Linked DNA regions of Homo sapiens: all the other regions are linked to region 1. The links are contacts of gene promoters, found by promoter capture Hi-C in blood cells and fetal thymus (Javierre and others, 2016). All regions are on one chromosome and are shown on one strand. The core of a region is centred on a gene start or on the middle of the fragment in contact, and the rest is flanking DNA. Distances in the headings are between cores, read along the strand shown.

Region 1 (2,626 bases), core at 47-2,546:
GCTCTTAGCCTGGGTGAAATTTACCAAATTGTGGCAACAAAGAAACCCTTGCGGCTACTTTACACATTGAGAACCCAACCCGCTACTGCCTGAGCTGCTGAAAAAGGACTAAACGTGGTTTTTCATTCTTCTCCGAGACATTTCCGAGGAGAAATTAGTTCAGCAGGCAGCCCTTCACCCCTTTCCCCCTTCTTTCTCTCCTGACGGCTGGATTAGCGGACAGTCAGGGGAGTAACAGAACTTTTCCTGTCCCCAGCCCGGAGACCCTAGGGCTCCACAGAGTTTCCACTAGTGCTGTGTGTGGGTCTCGAATTGGAAAGCAGTGCTTGCGCCCACTGCATTGCCTCCCTGCACCAGGACAATCAAGGGTTCCGCTCCAGGCCTTGACGACACAGAGCAATCATCCTATGGAGAATATCCCTAAGTTAGAGCGCGAGTGCAAGGCGGGGTTCAGACTCGCAGCCCTGCGCTCTCGGGTCTAGGCGGCCTCATACTAGAGCGCAACTCCTCAAAAGACAAACTTGAACGAAAGCGCTACCGAGCTGGGGCATGCACCTGTCCCTGGCGCGGTCGGCTGCGGCTGTGGCCATTCACTCCCTCTCCCTTCCTTCTTCGTCAACCTGGGCGTCAGCCAGAGCTAGGAGCGCGTCTCAGGAAAGTTTGTGCCCGCTGAAGTTGCTCTGGTTTCTTAAAGGGGGCCCACAGATTGACTTTCAAAGTCCGTGGGCACCTCGCCCGTGATTCCGCAGAGCCGGGCGGGCTGGCCGCAGTAGCGGAGGCCCGCCCCCCTTAATCCCCAGCGGTCAGAGGCCGAGGACCCCGCGCAGGAAGTCCTGAGGCAGCACCCCCAACCACCCTGCTCTCACTTTCACAAAAGTCCTACAGCATTCGTTTGGCAAGAGCTTCCTTCAGGGGCATTGAGAGAGAGGAGGCACCCGCCGAGCAGTGACAAGGAACCTGGGAGTCCTGCCCGCATTCGCTTTGCTGAGCCCAGGCGCCCAGGACTGCAATTACCTTGTTCCGCAGAGGTCCTGGGGCTGAGCACGTCTCTGGGGCTTTAGCTGAAGGGGACTGGGGAAGCCGGAGGCCCTGGAGCCCACAGGCGCCCCTGGAGCTCTAGTGTCCCGACTCCTCTCCTGCCGCGGGGACTCCAAGCGCCGGACACGCGGGAGCGAGCGCTCAGCAGCCCCGGATCCTGCACGCCGGGGACGGTGAGCCTCGCTCGCGGCTCCCTCGCTGGGTCTGAACCAGGAGCAGCTGAGAACGTGCCGGGGAGAGGCCGAGCTCCGACTCACTCATCCCTTAGCACCGAGCCGCCTACTTATTTTAATCCACCACCCTCCCTCCTCCACCACCCCCACCCCCGCCCCTTGCCTCAGGATTCCTCCCCTCCCTCCCCTGCCCCCCAACCCTGCCCTGCGCCTGCGCAATGAAAGACAAAGTTTTTGCTGACCCGGGCAGCAGACTTTGGCAGCTGCTCTCGCTTGGACCCGGCCTCTCCCAACCTGCGTCCCCTCCTCTTCAGTCCCGCGCGACCCCTGCTGCCTTTTTAGGTCCAGAGCGGCACGCCTGGCGCACTGGAGGAAACGGTCCCTAGCAGATGAGAGCGGGCTGGCACCGCACGTTTCGAGGTCCTATACTTGGGCTCCTAGGACACAGCCCGTGCTCTTTGGGAGGAGGGAGGGAGGGGCAGTAGCTCTGTGCACCGGGATCCCCACACCGCGGCTTGGGTTTCAACGCACTTTGGCGCCTGACAGAGTCGCATCTCCTCCCAGAATCTCTTTCCAGAGGCGGCAGACCCCGAGTGTGGAGCAGCTCCTGGCTATCCAAGCGTGCTCGGGGCCAGGGTGTTAACCCAGGCAGCGCTGGTTAATTCCTGGTGCGGGAGGGCCAGGGTCACCGAAGCAAGCGAGCTGTAACATCTGAGTGCTTATGGTTGACCCCAGACCCTAAGTTCTGGAGTCCAGTAGAAAGAACAAAGAGTAGGGAAAGGAGGTCAGGAAAGTTATTTTCCTGGGGCCCAGAACTCTCTGAGATTTCACCCCAATGCACAGTGGCACTCTCTACTTACATATTTGTTTTAGGATGGATCAGAGTTTAGAGAGCCGCACTGGCAAGCTAGACGAGCTGCAAAGTTGTCAGTTCCAGGGCCTCTGAGTCAAGGAGCTGGTTCAGGTGGAGTTTTTAATCGGAAAGGAATCAGAGTTCTGGACATTAAAAATTCTATCTTCATTGCCTAGGCATTATGGAGGGTACCATCACCCCCTTGACTACCCATCTCTGAAAGCTGACCTCCGGCTGACCCCAGCCCAATCCCTCCCTAATGCCTTTCTGGAATACCCTTCCAGGCCTTGGGTTTGGCAAGGAGGAGTCACTGGTTTCCTGGGACTTGTGTGGGTCCAGATCACACAACTGCACTCTCTGCCTTTGCCCCAGAGTTGCTGCTGAGTGACTCTTGGAGCTGGATCCTAGATTCCGTGGGTCCCTAAGTACTGTACTGCTTCTCTCCCGAGGAGCTTCTGCTATCTCCAGCTTTGGTTTGCAAAGCTAATCTGATTTTCTTGGGAGGTGAAGAAGGTTGTAATACCTGACCTAGGGAGATGGTAATGAAGACTCCCCTCCCTCA
Region 2 (2,626 bases), core at 70-2,569, 850 kb before region 1:
ATTTTTTGACATTCAATTTCACATTGTGGTTTCAATATTTATGTCTCTGATTGCCACTGAAGTTAAACCACTTTTCATAAGCTTATGGCCAATTTAGAAAGACCAGTTCATATCTTTTCATTATCTTTTTGTATTCATTTGTTTCTTTTTTTCTTCAGGATGTATGTAGTTCTTTAAATGTTCTGGATGGCTGATATTTGTCAGTTGTATGTGCTGCAGATACTTTTCAATTCAGTGGTTTGTAGTTTTACTTTTAGTGTTATCTTTTTAACTTTGATATCTTTGATACATAGAAGTTTTTTTTTTTTTGAGATGGAGTCTCGCTCTGTCACCTAGGCTGGAGTGCAGTGGCACGATCTCGGCCCACTGCAAGCTCCGCCTCCCGGGTTCACGCCATTCTCCTGCCTCAGCCTCCCGCTGTAGCTGGGACTACAGGCGCCCACCACCATGCCCGGCTAATATTTTTTGTATTTTTAGTAGAGACGGGGTTTCACCGTGTTAGCCAGGATGGTCTCGATCTCCTGACCTCATGATCCACCCGCCTCAGCCTCCCAAAGTGCTGGGATTACAGGCGTGAGCCACCGCGCCCAGCCCTAAGCTCTTATTTTTAATAACGTTAAATTACTAGTTGTTTCTTTTATGACTCATATAAATTTTTGTCTTCTTTATTCCAAGACCATGAAGATATTCTCTTATATTATTATAGAAAACATTTATATAATTTTATTTCATTTATATAGTTTCATCTCTCTTAGATATTTAAATGACATGCAACAATTTTTGCATACCAAGTGAGATAACAGTCTGATTTCACTTTTCCATATTGTTGGTCAATATACTTATGCATCATTTATTGAAAATAATATGTTTCATTTAATGAAATAAAATGCAACTTCTATCACAGTTCAAGGGTTCATATGTACATAATTTTGTTTGAGTTGTACTGTTTGCTACTTCCTTGCCCTGAACCAATACCACAGTCTTAATTATTATAGCTTCACAGAAAGTATTTATTTCCTTTAAAGCAAATACTCTTCATTTGTTATTTTCTAGAATGTCTTTGTCACTCTTCTCCTTTTGCTTTTCCATATACATTTAAAAACTACTTGTCAGACTGGGCACCGTGGTTCACCTCTGTAATCCCAGTACATTGGGAGGCTGAGGTGGAAGGATCACATGAGGCCAGGAGTTTGAGGCCACAGCGAGTTATGACTGTGCCACTGCACTCCAGCCTGGGAGACAGAGCAAGATCCTGTCTCTGAAGAAAAAAAAATGATAAACAACTTTTCAAGTTCCACGCACACACATCCCTCTTTTAGAATTTTGATTGACATTGCACTGAACCTATAAGCCAATTTGGGAAGAATCAACATTTTTAAAATATGAAGTCTTCCAGATATCATAAACACAGTATATTCTTCCAATTACTTAAGTCTTCTGCAATAACTCTTATCTAAGTTTCACAATATTTTCTGTAAAACTTTTGCATAACTTTTGCAAGATTTATGTTTAGATATTTTCTATTTCTTGATGTTATTATAAATTGTATAATTTAAAATTTCATTTTCTAGTGACTTACTGCAAATATATATACATATATAATGTATAAATATGGTAATGTATAATGTATATATGATAATGTATATATGCAATATATATTTTGTAAAAATCATATATTTGTTGACTAGCTAAATATATATATAATATGAGATCCCAGAAACTTTTCTTTCTTATAATTTGTCTACAGATTCTTTTGAATTTCCACATATGCAGCTGTTTCATCAGTAAATAATGACAATTTTGTTTCTGTCTAATTCTTAACATTTGTATGATGTCTTTCTGTTGCTTTATCCCACTGTTTATGATATTCAGTATAATCATTTTTTAAAAGGGGAGCAATAGCCCTCCTTGTCGCAGTACAAAACTCAGAAGGAAAACTTTCAACCATTAATTATATTTGTAGCAGGCTTTTTATTAATATAAACCCTCTTTTAATGATATTTTCTTCCAACTTTTGTTGCCAAGATCTTTTAAATAATGAACTGTTCTTTTAAAAATTGTGCTGAATAAATCGTAACACAATGGTATTTGTTTATCTAAACATAGAAAACATACAATAAAAATATAATATATATAATATAATGTTTAAAAAATTGTGTCCAATATTTATTTTTTGATTTTTTAGGGTTTTTATTTTTATTTTTTTTGAGAGAGAGGAGACTGAACTTTTATCAGCTACTGAGAGAGGTGTGTTAAGATTTCTTCCTCTGATTCTGAATTTACTTATTTCTTCTGGTAATTTTGTCAACTTTAGCAAACTATATTTGAAGCTATATTAATGAACATTTATAAATTTAGAGTTGTTATATTTTCTCAGTAAATAAAATTATGTATTATTATAAAGTGATGCTATTTATATTTTATGCATATTGCCTTATAATCTATTTTGTTCGGTATTAGTATAGCTATAGCAGTTCCTGTGGGTGATCAGTATTTATTTTTCATGTTTCTACTTTGAATTATTTGTATCTTTATGGTTTATATATGTGTCTTATAAAAAGCTTCCACATGAATATTTTAATCTGTCTAATAATCTTTATTTTTTAATTAGAACATTTATTCTATA
Region 3 (2,626 bases), core at 72-2,571, 810 kb before region 1:
AGACAGTTTTTATGAAATAATATTGCTATGTCAAGTGTGTTATTGGTTGTATAGTGGGAAAGCTATACTAAATATCTGGAGTCTTTAGTGGGTTTTCAGAGTTATGTCTAATCACTGAATTCTCAGCAGATGTTGAAGAGTTAAAACGGTTGCATTTCAAAAGAAATAGTTGCATTTACTATATGGTACTGTAATATGGTTCTTTTGATCACCATATTGTGATTTAACTCAGACATGTTCATTGTTTGTGCAATTTCTCCAAACCCCTGAAAGATGATATATATCCCTCTGGCAGGAAACCAACACTCTAGAGTGGCACTGGGTTATTTAACCACCCTGATAAATAATTTACACTTGGGGATATTATGCAGAAACCTTTTCAATTAACTTGTGTTGACAGAGAAACTAAATATAGTAGTCATTGAATTTTTTTTTAATGCATTCTTGACCTATCAGGCAGAAATAATCTTGTTTAAAATAACGTCCACTCTAGAAAATGAATATATGAAAGAGAAAAATTTTGAATAATAACCATATACGAGAGTTAAATATCTAAGATTGTTTTGATTTCAGAGGAAATTTTAACTTTTTCTAAGTACATCATTTTAGTTCACTAAAAGAAGGATCTGCTGGTTGAGTAAAAAAGCCAAAGGTTCTAAACTCTAAAGATTTTGGTCCAAATCGTGGCTGCAGATGAGTCACTTGAGTTTTCTGAAGCCTTGTTTCCTTATCTATAAATTAGGAATAAGAATAGTTTACAATGTTGTTACAAGAATTAGAGATAATATATGTAAACTATCTCAAATAAATAGTAGTTTTTATTCTGGAAAGAATTTTCCCTAATGAGTTTAATCACATGTCCTATTTTATTCTATTAACTGATGAGCCATGGTCTTAGGGATTTGCAAGAATGTGGCACTATTTTAAAAAGAAAATAAGTCTTCTTTAGTTTTTTTCCTACGTGTAAACTTATTTGAAAATTAATTAACAGCTGGAGTAAATTAATACTAAATATGGCAAAATTAATTGTGTTGGCTTTAGCAAGTCACATCTGTCAACTGAAGACAGGCTGCTTACTAAAATACACAGGCATCTGCAGAAAGAACTAGAAGATGGAGTCAATAATTTGACTGAACTATACAGAAATTTCCAGGGGAATTTGTGGCAGGATGATGATGATGATGATTATGATTGTCTGTATGCTTTCTTTGTAGACATTCTAGTTTTCCTTGTACTAATTCCCAATTACCATTGACTATCATTGTCAAAAATAATGCCACACTTACTTAACGGCATTTTCATGCTTACTGTTTTGACTGTTCAATACGAGTGTTAAAGAAGAATCCAGCATTGGCTTCACAAGCCAGAAGAGCTCTCTTTTCTTCAATAAAGATGGAACTCATTTCCTAGGGTATAGTGAGAGACCATCTACCAGGACAGCCAAATCAGCCCCATCTACCCTGACCATCAGTAATGTGGTAGACACCTGAGCTTTCAGGTCATTAATTAACTAATTAATTTGTCAACCTAATATTTTGTGAGTGATTGATATAGCCCCATTCCAGATGTTAGCAGGATGCAGAAAAGGTGCAAACAGATTCCTGCTTTCAGTGTACTCACAGTTTAGTGCTTGGCCACTCACAACTAACCTTTGAGTCCCTTCCTATCTCTACTTCTCTGACTTGTTTTGCAGCATAAACACAGGAATAAATATTCCTAAGGTAACCAAGGATTCGGTCATGAATGTCTTTCTAATCCATTCACACTACCCAAAACACTTATGCAGGATTATCCATCACGAGTCATTCTACAGTCCTAATCACATTGGCTGCTGAAGGAAGCCTCGTATTAATTACATTTTTCCTAAATGGAAAACAGCTGTGATGAATTAATCTATTCACCAGAAATCTCATATTAGGAAATGAAGTCTCATATTTCTCATATAGGAATATCTATATCCTGATATAGATTTTTCTCAACTGTCAGTGTCTCCAACTGGAAGAGGAAGAATAATATCTTCCTCTACCTTACCTGTGTCTTTGAATGTGGCTGGTTCACTTGGCCCCTTCTACTTCTCTGTCATACAGCAGAGACAAAATGTTTCCTCAGCTAGACTAGAAACATTTAAATGATAAACACATATTTTTTTAAAAAAATGTCACTCAGATGCAGTAAAGTCAGCAAAACAGAACACATAATTACAAGGCCCACTTAAAGAGACACATCCAGAGCATAAATCTCCTGCTTAAGGATGGGCCTAATGCAGATATTACTGCTAATGCCACTAAACATTCAGTCTCAGAAGTCACTTCCTGTGCTCTGATTCTAGAAGAACTAATTAAGATTCTGAGTATAAGTTGGCTTCCCAAATGGATTTTCTTTATTGGGATACATTTTGCTACCCAAAGAAAAGTTTCCTGTTCTTTTGTTGGTTTCTCATTATTGACAGATATTTTGACAAATTCAAATATCTGAGGCTACTAAGCTAAGGCTTCAACATTGTACAATTGTGATTAAAGAAATGTCATACTGATTGCCTCTCTTCCCCCAACCCACCCCCAGCCCTTCAAGTAGTAATACCGAATTTCTTTGTGCCTTCTATATATGCCATGGCTTGGTCATTTGC
Region 4 (2,626 bases), core at 42-2,541, 790 kb before region 1:
TAGGCTTTTCTCCATGGACTTCACTAGATGCTGATGACAAAGACTGCAGGCAGTGGGGTGATAGAATAAAGCCATCCTTGATGGTACAGGTGTGGAGGAGGGGAGCAGCTGCCACTGGGGGCAAAGACTAAAACTCCCCCTAGTTGCTTATACCCTCAGGAACAAAGAGCCTAGACTGCTAGAAGAGCTTCAAACACTGTTATCCTCCAGGGCATGAGTAAAGATCCACTGTTACAGAAGAAAACATTCTAACTTTGGGAGAATAAGAGACTATCAAGGATTGGTACCATTAGATATTGGCTATCACTGGGGCATGGCAAGATCCAGGATGTTCATCCCTAAGCCCTAGGAAGATAGAAGAAATAGCTGGGAAGGGGTAAGAATGAGGAGACCTTCTCTGCAGCAGACACACAGGGAAGGCCTGCTGCTGAAAGTCGACTAGAAATCTTGAGAAAAACCCTCTGGTAAGCCAGTTTGCACCCTAAGAACAAAGTTGATACCAGACAAACTTGGATCCTGTGGTGCCATGAAGATAACCATAGCAACCACAAAACCTAAAACAACTTTAATACCTGATTTGATTGATTCAATCTATCACAATAATTGCTAGTCCCACAGTAAAACAGAACAAAACAAAATGAACAATCTACTTTTAGGAGAAATTAAAAGAACTAGACTTAGTAATGACCCAAGTGTCACAAATATAACAGAGGGAATTGAAAATAACTGTGATTAATATCTTTAAATGTCTACTTTAAAGGTGGATACCATACATGAGTAGACTAGCAATTTTGGCAAAGAGATTGAAATGAAAAGAGTTGAATGGAACTATATAAAGAGTGCCTAATGGATGTGTCAGTAGACTCAACACAGCTGAAGAAATAATGAGTGAACTTGAAGACAGGTCAATAGAAATTGCCCAAACTGAAAAGAGAAAGAGAAAAAAAGAGTGGGGAAAAAAGAGCAGAGCATTGAAATGCTGTGGGACACACACACACACACACACACACACACACACACACACTCCCCTCTCATATTCAAACCAAAGGAAATATAGACAATTATGAAGGCAGCCAGACAAAAACAGACACATTACATACTAAGGACCAAAGATACAAAATTCATAACATTTGTCATCAAAATCTATACAAATGAGAAGACAATGGAAGAGCATCTTTAAAGTGCTGGGAGAAACACACAGTAAACCCAGAATACTACATTCAGTAAAAATAAAATATTGTTTTAAAAACTAAATAAGATTAAAACTTTTTAGGCAAAGAAAAACAGAGATTCAGTACCAGTAGATTTGTACGACATGAAATGTTAAACAAAACAAAATAAAACAAAAGATCTCCTGGCAGAAGGAATATGATAACAGAGAAAAACCTGATCTACACAAAGAAAGGAAGATCTCTGAAAATGATTAAAAGGAATTTGAATATGAAATACATATTTTTGCCTCATCCTTATTTACTAGACGGTATTTAATTGCCAAAAACAGAAATAGTAGTGGAAAAGAAAAATAAATGTTGCAGTCCCCAGGTCACTAAGCTAAAGGGAAAAGTCAAGCCTGTAACAGCTTAGAGACAACCTGCCTCCCATTCTATTCAAAGTCACCCCTATGCTCACTGAGATAACTACATATCTGATTGCCTCCTTTGGAGAGGCTAATCAGAAACTCAAACCCGCTTGGAGTCTTCCTACCTTTGCTTCAAGCTGTCCTGCCTTTCCAGACCGAACCAATGTTCATGTTACATATGTTGATTAATATCTCATATCTCCCTTAAATGAATAAAACCAAACTGTGCTCTGACCACCTTGGGCACATGTCGTCAGATCCTCCTGAGGCTGTGCCATGCATGCGTATCCTCAACCTTGTCAAAATAAACTTTCTAAATTAACTGAGACCTGTTTCAGATTTTTGAGGTTCACAGTAGCAAAGTATAGAGAGTTTATAGAATAGATAAAATAATATATGACAACTGTAGCACAAAACATGAGAGGCAGAGTTTGGCAGTTCGTTGTTGCAAGGTTCTTACAGTACATATGATGTTGTAGAGTATAACATTGACAATAGACTGTGATTACTTAAAGTTGTATATTGTAAACACTAGCGTAACTAATAAAAAATTTTAAATGAGTCATAAGCCAATAGTGGAGATAAAATGGAACGTAAAAACACACAATAAGTCTGTAAGTAAATAGGGGAAAAAAGAAAAGAAAAAGGGGACTAAGAACAGTTGGAACACAGAAAAAACATAGGAAGATAGTAGATTTTAATCCAACCAAAGCAATGATCACATTAAATTTAAATGTCCTAAAAACAGCAATTAAAACACAGGGATTGCCAGATTGTATAAAATAGCAGCACCAACTGTAATATCTATAAGAAAAATAAGTTAAATATAAACACAATTTAAATATAAAGACATAGATAAAAGTATAGAAAAATCATATCATACAAACATTAGCCCCCCCAAAAAAGCTGGAGTGATTATATGAGTATCAGATGAATATTACATAATGAAAAGATATTAATTAAGATTAAGACAATATAATAATCCTAAATATGTAGGCACCTAAAAACAGAGATTCAAAATACATGATACAAAACTGATAAAATTGA
Region 5 (2,626 bases), core at 59-2,558, 770 kb before region 1:
CCAGCTCCATTTCCTGTCACTTCCCTTGCTCAGTCTAGCTTTGCATTTAGAATGTCAAATTTATGACATCATATGTGATTCCATAGTAACAAACTGACTCTATGAATATGTGATTAACCTTTTCTTAAAAAACAAAAAATAAATGTTTCTTCATTTTGAGTGTATCTGCTCATAGCCATTGTCTTTGTTTTCAGAAATTGATGTCTAAACATTGTTCAAATGTTCAATATGTAGCAATATCAATATTACCACTTCCTTTTTAAATCTTTTTAAGCATTTCTCTGCCATTCATTATATTAATCCCATTTGTGACTGTCTGTTTCCTGGTACTGCCAAAATGAATGGCAAAGTCATTTGTGGATCCAATCATTTATCCATGTTCATTCTGCCAGACAGACTTTGGAGGGCTTTTCTCAGATCTAGAGACTATTTTTGACAGCTGGGATTTTGTTCCAGACATGGAGTTTAGACTTGAGTTTGAGTTTAGCTTTAATGTCTCATGTTTCTTTCAATGGCAAAACCTGTTGAGGAAGACACTGTCAAAGCCCCTTCCCCATGGCTAGACTCAGTGTAGAATGTTACCTTTGCTGCCCCATCCTTAACCCTTAACCCTGGGCTGCCCCATCCTTAACCCTTTAAACACTAAAGCTAAACTCAAACTCAAGTCTAAACTCCATGTCTAGAACAAAATCTCAGCTGTCAAAAATAGTTTCCAGATCTGAGGAAAGCCCCCCAAAGTCTGGGAGAGTGAACATGGATAAATGATTGGGTCCACAAATGAGTTTGTGATTCATTTTGGCAAGTAACAGGAAACATACAGTTACAAATAGAATTGATATTTGTAAAAAGTAGCCCCTAACTCTGGTTTACAGAATCTAAACATGTTCTCCATTTTAGTTTTCTCCTTTTATCTTCACCCAAGCTTTAGATAGGAGACATGTGCCATGCCAACCTGAGCTGGTGAAATCATCAAGGACTGAGGCAGGTTTCCAGCCTGTTTTCATGGGACAAGTTGATAGCTAAGGTTGAATATCGGAAGTTGTTGATGGTTTTAATTTAAGTTATCCAAGGAGTCTTTTAGTTAGTAAAACATTCAGGCTGTAGGTAAGAGTGCCTGGGTTTAAGTTATTTCATCTCTCCCCTACTCCCCACTGTACACCCAACCCCCAGCATTCTACCCAAAATTTGTACAGGGGTCATTTGTTTTTGCATGGTTATGATGTTATTGTGTAATATTTGTATAAGTTATGTAGACAATCAAAGTTGTAAGTGCTATACGTTTCAGAGTAACTTCAGAGAACCTTACCTTTTCTATTAAAATCACACCCCTAAGTACCAAGAGCATCTTTATTTTCTTAGTATGCTGTGTTTGGGGCCAGAGCAGCTAATGTGAATTTCATCTCATTGTAATTAGGTGTTTTATTTCTACTATTCAGGATTATAAACTCATTATGGCTTCTTAGCACTCCTTCGAGGGAGAGAGCAGAGGCTTCTGTTATAGGTTTCATGGGTAGGACTTCACTTAGGGAAGCCTGACATCCCAAATCTAGGGCTGTGGGCTGGAGTCCCTTCCTCCACAGTCTGGAAGCCTAGGCAAAAGCATGAACTGACCTGAGTCAGAGGTTTATGTGACTCACAGTTCTGCAGACTATACAGGAAGCATAGTGCTGGCATGTGCTTCTGGCGAGGCCTCAGGAAGCTTCCCAATCATGACAGAAGGCAAAGAAGGAGCAAATGTGTAACACGACAAGAGCAGGAGCAAGAGAGAAGGGAGGAGGTCCCAGATTCTTTTGAACAGTCAGATATCCTCGTAACTCATTACCATGGGAAGGCACAAAGCCATCCATTAGGGATTGACCTTCATGACCCAAACACCTCACACTAGGCCTCACCTCCAACATTGGGAGTCATCTTTTAACATAAGATTTGGAAGGGACAAATATCCAAGCCATGTAATGGGTTAAGCATGTTCTTGTCGCAAGACTTTTAAATTTGCTGCTCCATCTGCTGCAGCGGCCCATATATACACGTGCCTTAATTCCTTATTTTTTTAACTCTGCTCTCAAGCAGTCTCCTCAGAGAGGACTTCTCTGACTGTCACTAAAAATGATACCTCATTTCCTTCATCTTTTAACCCTTATGTCCCTTTATTTTCAATCATAACATTTATTTCAACCTGACTTTGTTTCACAAGAGTTTATTTGCTTATTGTCTTTTCTGGTCCCGCTGGAGCGAAAACTGCTTGTGAGAAGCGACCTATACATCTTTTCTACTGCTGCTTTCTTCTTGCCTAGAATAGTTACTAGGAGGTACTTCCATAAATATTTGTTGAATAAATACATGAATCTTTTAAGAAATGCGTTTACTTAACAGTGATAAGCAGGATACAGAATATTATGGTAACAGTAGTGGTGGAATTTTTTTTTTTTTTTGAGACAGAGTCTTGCTCTGTCACTCAGGCTGGAGTGCAATGGCAAGATCTCAGCTCACTGCAACCTCCACTTCCCAGGTTTAAGCGATTCTCCTGCCTCAGCCTCCCAAGTAGCTGGGATTTCAGGCATGTACCACCATGCCTGGCTAATTTTTGTATTTCTGATAGAGATGGGGTTTCACCATGTTGGTCAGG
Region 6 (2,626 bases), core at 38-2,537, 690 kb after region 1:
ACCTTGTGCTCACATGTAAGCCCTGGCAACTTATCTCTGATTAAAGTTGATATTTCTAAATTACATGTTTAGCTTTTCAAAAAATACATAAAATTAACTGTAATCTTACAATACAAAATTTCTCTGAAAATATCCAACTATGTACTAACTATTACAAATATTTATTCCTGATTCACTTTTTCCTTTCACTGTATTCAGGAAAGAAAGTTAATAAAAATGTAATTTAAAAAGAATGATTAAGCTGGGGACAGTGGTGTGTGCCTGTAGTCCCAGCTGGTCAGGTGCCTGAGGTGGGAGGATTGTTTGAGCCCAGTTCAAGGCTGCAGTGTGCTATAATCATGCCATTGCACACCAGCACAGGCAACATAGCAAGACCCCATCTCTTTAAAAAAAAAAAAAAAAGATTAAATTATTAACTTCTAAACTTGGCAATATGGAGAGGTATAGAATGCAGCAATATTTTAGCAGCATGGGCTGCGGATTCACCACTCAATGTGTTAACAGTACTGTAAATTTAATCAGTCAAATCAGGTGGTGTGCATTGTTTTTGAAAGCTTCTACATCTTATGTAAGTGTGTACAATAAGAAATCTGTTAGATTTGACTTGTTACAAAATAACTGTATCAGATCCATGGAAGCACAGGGCCTGAAGAGAGGAATTCTTTGTTTTCTTCTTTCACTGCCACACCTATTCCAGAAGATTCTCTGGAGACTTTAAAAAAAAAATCATTTTTCAGTTTTCCCACAGTAATTTGCCCAGAGCCAGTATCTACTGAGATAATAATTAAAACAGTGTGTCTGGTTTAAGGAGGCATCCAGATAAGGGCTTCCCATGCAGAGAAAGCACCCACAGGAGGGTCAATCTACAGAACTAAGCAAAGCCTGTTATCTGATAAAGATCAAAATTGACTATCTTTAAAACGTTTTTTAGCCATAAAAAAGGATTAGTTCATGTCCTTTGCAGGGACATGGATGAAGCTGGAAACCATCATTCTCAGCAAACTATTACAAGGACAGAAAACCAAACACCGCATGTTCTCACTCATAGGTGGGAACTGAACAATGAGAACACTTGGACACAGGGTGGGGAACATCACACACCTACACCAGGGCCTGTCAGCGGGTGGCGGGCTGGGGGAGGGATAGCATTAGGAGAAATAACTAATGTAAATGATGAGTTGATGGGTGCAGCAAACCAACATGGCACATGTATACCTATGCAACAAACCTGCACGCTGTGGACATGTACCCTAGAACTTACAGTATAATTTAAAAAAAAAAAGTTTTTTGTTGTTGTTTACTGTTACATGCAGATACAACTGAGTATTCACAATATTTTTTGGAGGAGACATTCATTCAACAAATGTGTAATGAACACCTCAAATGTTTTAATTAATAAGTTAGCCATCACACACATTTTATTTTGAGACAGGGTCTCATTCTGTCACCCAGGATGGAGAGTAGTTACTGCGATCTAGGCTCACTGCAACCTCTGCCTCCCCGGCTCAAGTGATCCTCCCACTTCAGCCTCCCCTGTAGCTGGGACTACAGGCATGCACCACCACACCATGCCCCGCTAATATATATATGTATGTATGTGTGTGTGTATATATATTTTTATATGTTTTATATATATTTATATATTATATATCTATATATAAATATATATTATATAAATATATATATAATATAATATATAAATATATATATAATATAATATATATTTTTTTTTGGTAGAGAGGGGGTTTCGTCATGTTGCTCAGGCTGGTCTCGAACTCCTGGGCAATCCACCTGCCTTGGCCTCCCAAAATGCTGGGATTACAGGCGTGAGCCACTGCCCTTATAAAGACATCACCCTCTTCCCTCCAGGAGAACATCTTGCTGTAGAGAGAAAAATAAGAGAAAAGGACAATCCTACCAATGTGTACTGAGTACTATTTAATAAGTACATACAAGAAGGATCCAGAAACTTTTGCAGGTGCACCGTGAGAAAAACAGATCCCCCTGGCTAGGAAGTAAAGAAAGCTTGGCTGGGCATGGTAGCTCACGCCTGTAATCCCAGCACTTTGGGAGGCCAAGGCAGGCAGATCATGAGGTCAGGAGATCGAGACAATCCCGGCCAACACGGTGAAACCCCGTCTCTACTAAAATACAAAAAATTAGCCCGACATGGTGGCGGGTGCCTGTAGTCCCAGCTATTTGGGAGGCTGGGGCAGAGGAATCGCTTGAACCTGGGAGGCGGAGGTTGCAGTGAGCCGAGATCGCACCACTGCACTCCAGCCTGGTGACAGAGCAAGACTCTGTCTCAAAAAAGAAAAAAAAAAAAAAAGGCCGGGCGCGGTGGCTCACGCCTGTAATCCCAGCACTTTGGGAGGCCGAGGCGGGTGGATCATGAGGTCAGGAGATCGAGACCATCCTGGCTAACAAGGTGAAACCCCGTCTCTACTAAAAATACAAAAAATTAGCCGGGCGCGGTGGCGGGCGCCTGTAGTCCCAGCTACTCGGGAGGCTGAGGCAGGAGAATGGCGTGAACCCGGGAAGCGGAGCTTGCAGTGAGCCGAGATTGCGCCACTGCGGTCCGCAGTCCGGCCTGGGCGACAGAGCGAGACTCCGTCTCAAAAAAAAA
Region 7 (2,626 bases), core at 80-2,579, 640 kb after region 1:
CATCTATCCACCTGTCTGAATCCTATTGAACCTTTTAGGGACAGCCAGTCCAAATCCCATCTTAGTTAATCAGTCAATAAACCAGGAAGTATCTATTGAAGATCAACTACATGTCCATTATCCCTGTACCCATAAGATGGGTATATATAATACTTGTTCAGTGTCTGTCGTGCCTGATAGTCTCTAAGCTCTAGCAGGGCATGGGTTCAGTGGGATAGTCTTAATTACAACACTTCATAGAAAATTGTAAACCTGGATTGTAGAAAAATTGAAAGTTGAGAAATGGATCTCAAACTCCATTTCTCAAACCTGGGTTGTAGCAAAATTGAAAGTTGAGAAATGGAGAAATGGTGCTTATAATAGCACCAGAAGGAATAAAATAGTTAGGAATAAATATTTTTAAAAGTACAAGACTTGTACACTGAAAACTACAAAACAATTTTGAAAGAAATTAAAGAAGACCTAAAATAAAATAAAATTAAATTAAATTAAAGACATACCATGTTAATGCAATGAAAGACTGTTAAAATGGCAGTACTCTCCAGGAAAAGATGCCTCACCTCATTAGTAACCAGGAAATGAAAAAAACATCCACTGGATTGGCAAAAATTTAATTCAACAAAACCAAATGTTGGCAAGCAAATTCTGACAAGCAAAAGCATTGAGGGGAGGGTGGGAATGAGTGAGTGCAGGGCATGCTCCTGGACCATCAAAGAGCCCACTGTGGCTGGACCAGGATGCAGGAAGAAGCAGTGAATCTGGGGGCAAATGTAGTAGAAAAGTTTTAAAAGCCAGGATGAGAGAAGTAGTTACCATGGGCTGAGGGGAGCGGGTGATGGGCAGTTATTGTTTCATCGGCACAGACTTTTATTTTGGGATGATAAAAAATTTCTGGAGATGGATACTGGTGGTGGTTGCCCAACAATGTAAATGTACTTAATGCCACTGAACTATACACTTGAAAATAATTGAAATGGTAAATTGTATGTGTATTTTACCACAATAAAAAAAATTCAGACTTAGGCAGAAAGTTTAGTTATTAAGAAAAATGTGAAAAACAGAGAAGACAGAAACAGATCATGGAGGGTAGGCTGCCTGGTATAGGGGTATCATTGTTTTATTCTGTAGACCAGTGGGAGCCACTGGAGAATTCTGACAGGGAGAAAGAATCACAACTGTGTCTTAGACAGAAAGAAAAAAGCTTGCTCCTGAAAAATTTTCCTACCAAAGGAAATAGCCTTAAAGGGCTGATCCTCACCTGAACATGTTTTCTTGTCCTCATTTAAGGTGTAGCCAGGATAGCAATCACAGTGGTAGGATGCGGCCCCATCACTCACACAAATGTGCTGGCAACCATGAGAGCCTAGGGCACACTTGTCACGGACTGACCGCACGTGGTGCAGGAAAGAAAATATTCACACATTAAATAGAAAAGTAAACACAAATGTTTGAGAGGAGAAGCTTCCATTTGGTCCCCACAAGTGCTGAGAATGTAGTAGTCAGTAGTCAGCAACAGGCCCCATGCTGCAGGAGCAAGCCTGTTTTCTCTTCCCATACCTCTCATCCCTTTGGCCTCACATCACACACACTCCTTTCCTTTATATCTCTCACAGATATCTAAGGGTACCTTTCCTTTTTTTCTACCCACAGCACTGGGCAGCACTGAGTCTTGACTATATTCCAGAACTTACCTCCAGCCTTTCCCGATGACTATCAATGCTTCTAGCATCCCCAGCTACTCATGGATCATCATCATCATCACCAAAAGTAATGTTTTAGGGACCTAATCATACATGGAGCTAAGTTTGATGCTGCACAAAAAGCACTATATTGACCAAGTGCCTGCCTTCATAGCTTACAAAGTGTAACAGAAAAGACTGACCAGGAGACACATGCACACACACACACACACACACAAGCACAGATGGGGAAATGATACAGGGTTAGTAATGATGATGTGTATGATTAGAGAGTGAAGTACTTACTATCTATCACAAATAACATTTCAGGGACAAATGCAGTTTGCCCAAATTTGAGTGGAGAGGAGAGCAAAGTGCCATACTCATCCCATGTTCAGACTGGCCTAGGACAAATAAAACAGTAATTCTCCTTTGAAATCCAGAAAGCCTTCCTGGAAGACATAGGTTCCTCCTCTGCCATTGCAGGAACCAAAATAGTTTATTTCCCTCTAATTTTCCTCTTAAATGTCATTTCATGGGCAGAACCTTTTGTGGCTCACTAATGCCTATAGAATAGCTTCTTGTGAAATGTGAGACGCTATATAATCTATACATAAAGTGCCTTTCCAACCTTAATATGGCTATTCCCTTTCAGTGCTACAATTTAGATTTTTTTTTCAGCAAAATGCCTTATAGCAGGGTGTTTCATTTTTTTCCCCCTCATTCCAGGTTAGTACCCACTCTACAGGTGGCAAATGGACATGCTTCCAGCCCCTGGCCCTTATTTGGGGCTCCACATTTAATTTACAAGCCTTCCTACCACTAGCAACGGAAAAGCAGACCATTAGAAGGGATCTGATCCATGGTATGTTCCCCAGCTTTATAGCAGTATTCACTATTACTTTAAAATATATAAATAGGCCAGGCACAGTGGCTCACACCTGTAA

The links. Contacts are between HindIII fragments. The CHiCAGO score rates a contact against its expected background, and 5 or more counts as called.
Region 2: a fragment that was not itself captured here is called in contact with the fragment with the promoter of OSR1 in region 1 in 9 of 17 cell types (megakaryocytes, M2 macrophages, M1 macrophages and 6 more); the score reaches 12.0 in megakaryocytes.
Region 3: a contact is called between a fragment that was not itself captured here and the fragment with the promoter of OSR1 in region 1, in 15 of 17 cell types (total CD4 T cells, total CD8 T cells, naive CD8 T cells and 12 more). The highest score is 17.3, in total CD4 T cells.
Region 4: a contact is called between a fragment that was not itself captured here and the fragment with the promoter of OSR1 in region 1, in 13 of 17 cell types (total CD8 T cells, naive CD8 T cells, naive CD4 T cells and 10 more). The highest score is 15.5, in total CD8 T cells.
Region 5: a fragment that was not itself captured here is called in contact with the fragment with the promoter of OSR1 in region 1 in 1 of 17 cell types (naive CD8 T cells); the score reaches 5.1 in naive CD8 T cells.
Region 6: a fragment that was not itself captured here is called in contact with the fragment with the promoter of OSR1 in region 1 in 2 of 17 cell types (monocytes and neutrophils); the score reaches 6.0 in monocytes.
Region 7: a contact is called between a fragment that was not itself captured here and the fragment with the promoter of OSR1 in region 1, in 1 of 17 cell types (total CD8 T cells). The highest score is 5.0, in total CD8 T cells.

Annotation. Positions count from the first base shown.
Region 1 is chr2:19,357,327-19,359,952 of GRCh38, forward strand. It overlaps OSR1 (odd-skipped related transcription factor 1), which reads right to left and starts at 1,297. Exons shown (of 3, transcript NM_145260.3): 1 at 1,015-1,297. RefSeq lists an enhancer at 641-1,169. The HindIII fragment of the contact is 8,359 bases long and covers 1-2,626 here.
Region 2 is chr2:18,507,300-18,509,925 of GRCh38, forward strand. All of the region lies in intron 6 of LOC105373454 (a long non-coding RNA gene), which reads left to right. Among named protein-coding and RNA genes, the nearest start is that of RDH14, 52 kb to the right of the region's middle. The HindIII fragment of the contact is 2,480 bases long and covers 80-2,559 here.
Region 3 is chr2:18,542,588-18,545,213 of GRCh38, forward strand. No RefSeq gene overlaps it. Among named protein-coding and RNA genes, the nearest start is that of RDH14, 17 kb to the right of the region's middle. The HindIII fragment of the contact is 5,341 bases long and covers 1-2,626 here.
Region 4 is chr2:18,567,102-18,569,727 of GRCh38, forward strand. The region is part of intron 9 of NT5C1B-RDH14 (NT5C1B-RDH14 readthrough); the gene reads right to left. The region is part of intron 8 of NT5C1B (5'-nucleotidase, cytosolic IB); the gene reads right to left. All of the region lies in intron 2 of LOC105373456 (a long non-coding RNA gene), which reads left to right. Among named protein-coding and RNA genes, the nearest start is that of RDH14, 7.8 kb to the left of the region's middle. The HindIII fragment of the contact is 3,270 bases long and covers 1-2,626 here.
Region 5 is chr2:18,589,517-18,592,142 of GRCh38, forward strand. The region is part of intron 2 of LOC105373456 (a long non-coding RNA gene); the gene reads left to right. It overlaps NT5C1B-RDH14 (NT5C1B-RDH14 readthrough), which reads right to left and starts at 53. Exons shown (of 11, transcript NM_001199104.2): 1 at 1-53. It overlaps NT5C1B (5'-nucleotidase, cytosolic IB), which reads right to left and starts at 53. Exons shown (of 9, transcript NM_033253.4): 1 at 1-53. The HindIII fragment of the contact is 777 bases long and covers 921-1,697 here.
Region 6 is chr2:20,045,080-20,047,705 of GRCh38, forward strand. All of the region lies in intron 1 of LAPTM4A (lysosomal protein transmembrane 4 alpha), which reads right to left. Among named protein-coding and RNA genes, the nearest start is that of LAPTM4A, 5.2 kb to the right of the region's middle. The HindIII fragment of the contact is 1,471 bases long and covers 553-2,023 here.
Region 7 is chr2:19,995,876-19,998,501 of GRCh38, forward strand. MATN3 (matrilin 3) reads right to left here. Exons shown (of 8, transcript NM_002381.5): 6 at 1,259-1,384. The region is part of intron 1 of WDR35-DT (WDR35 divergent transcript); the gene reads left to right. Among named protein-coding and RNA genes, the nearest start is that of WDR35-DT, 7.0 kb to the left of the region's middle. The HindIII fragment of the contact is 260 bases long and covers 1,200-1,459 here.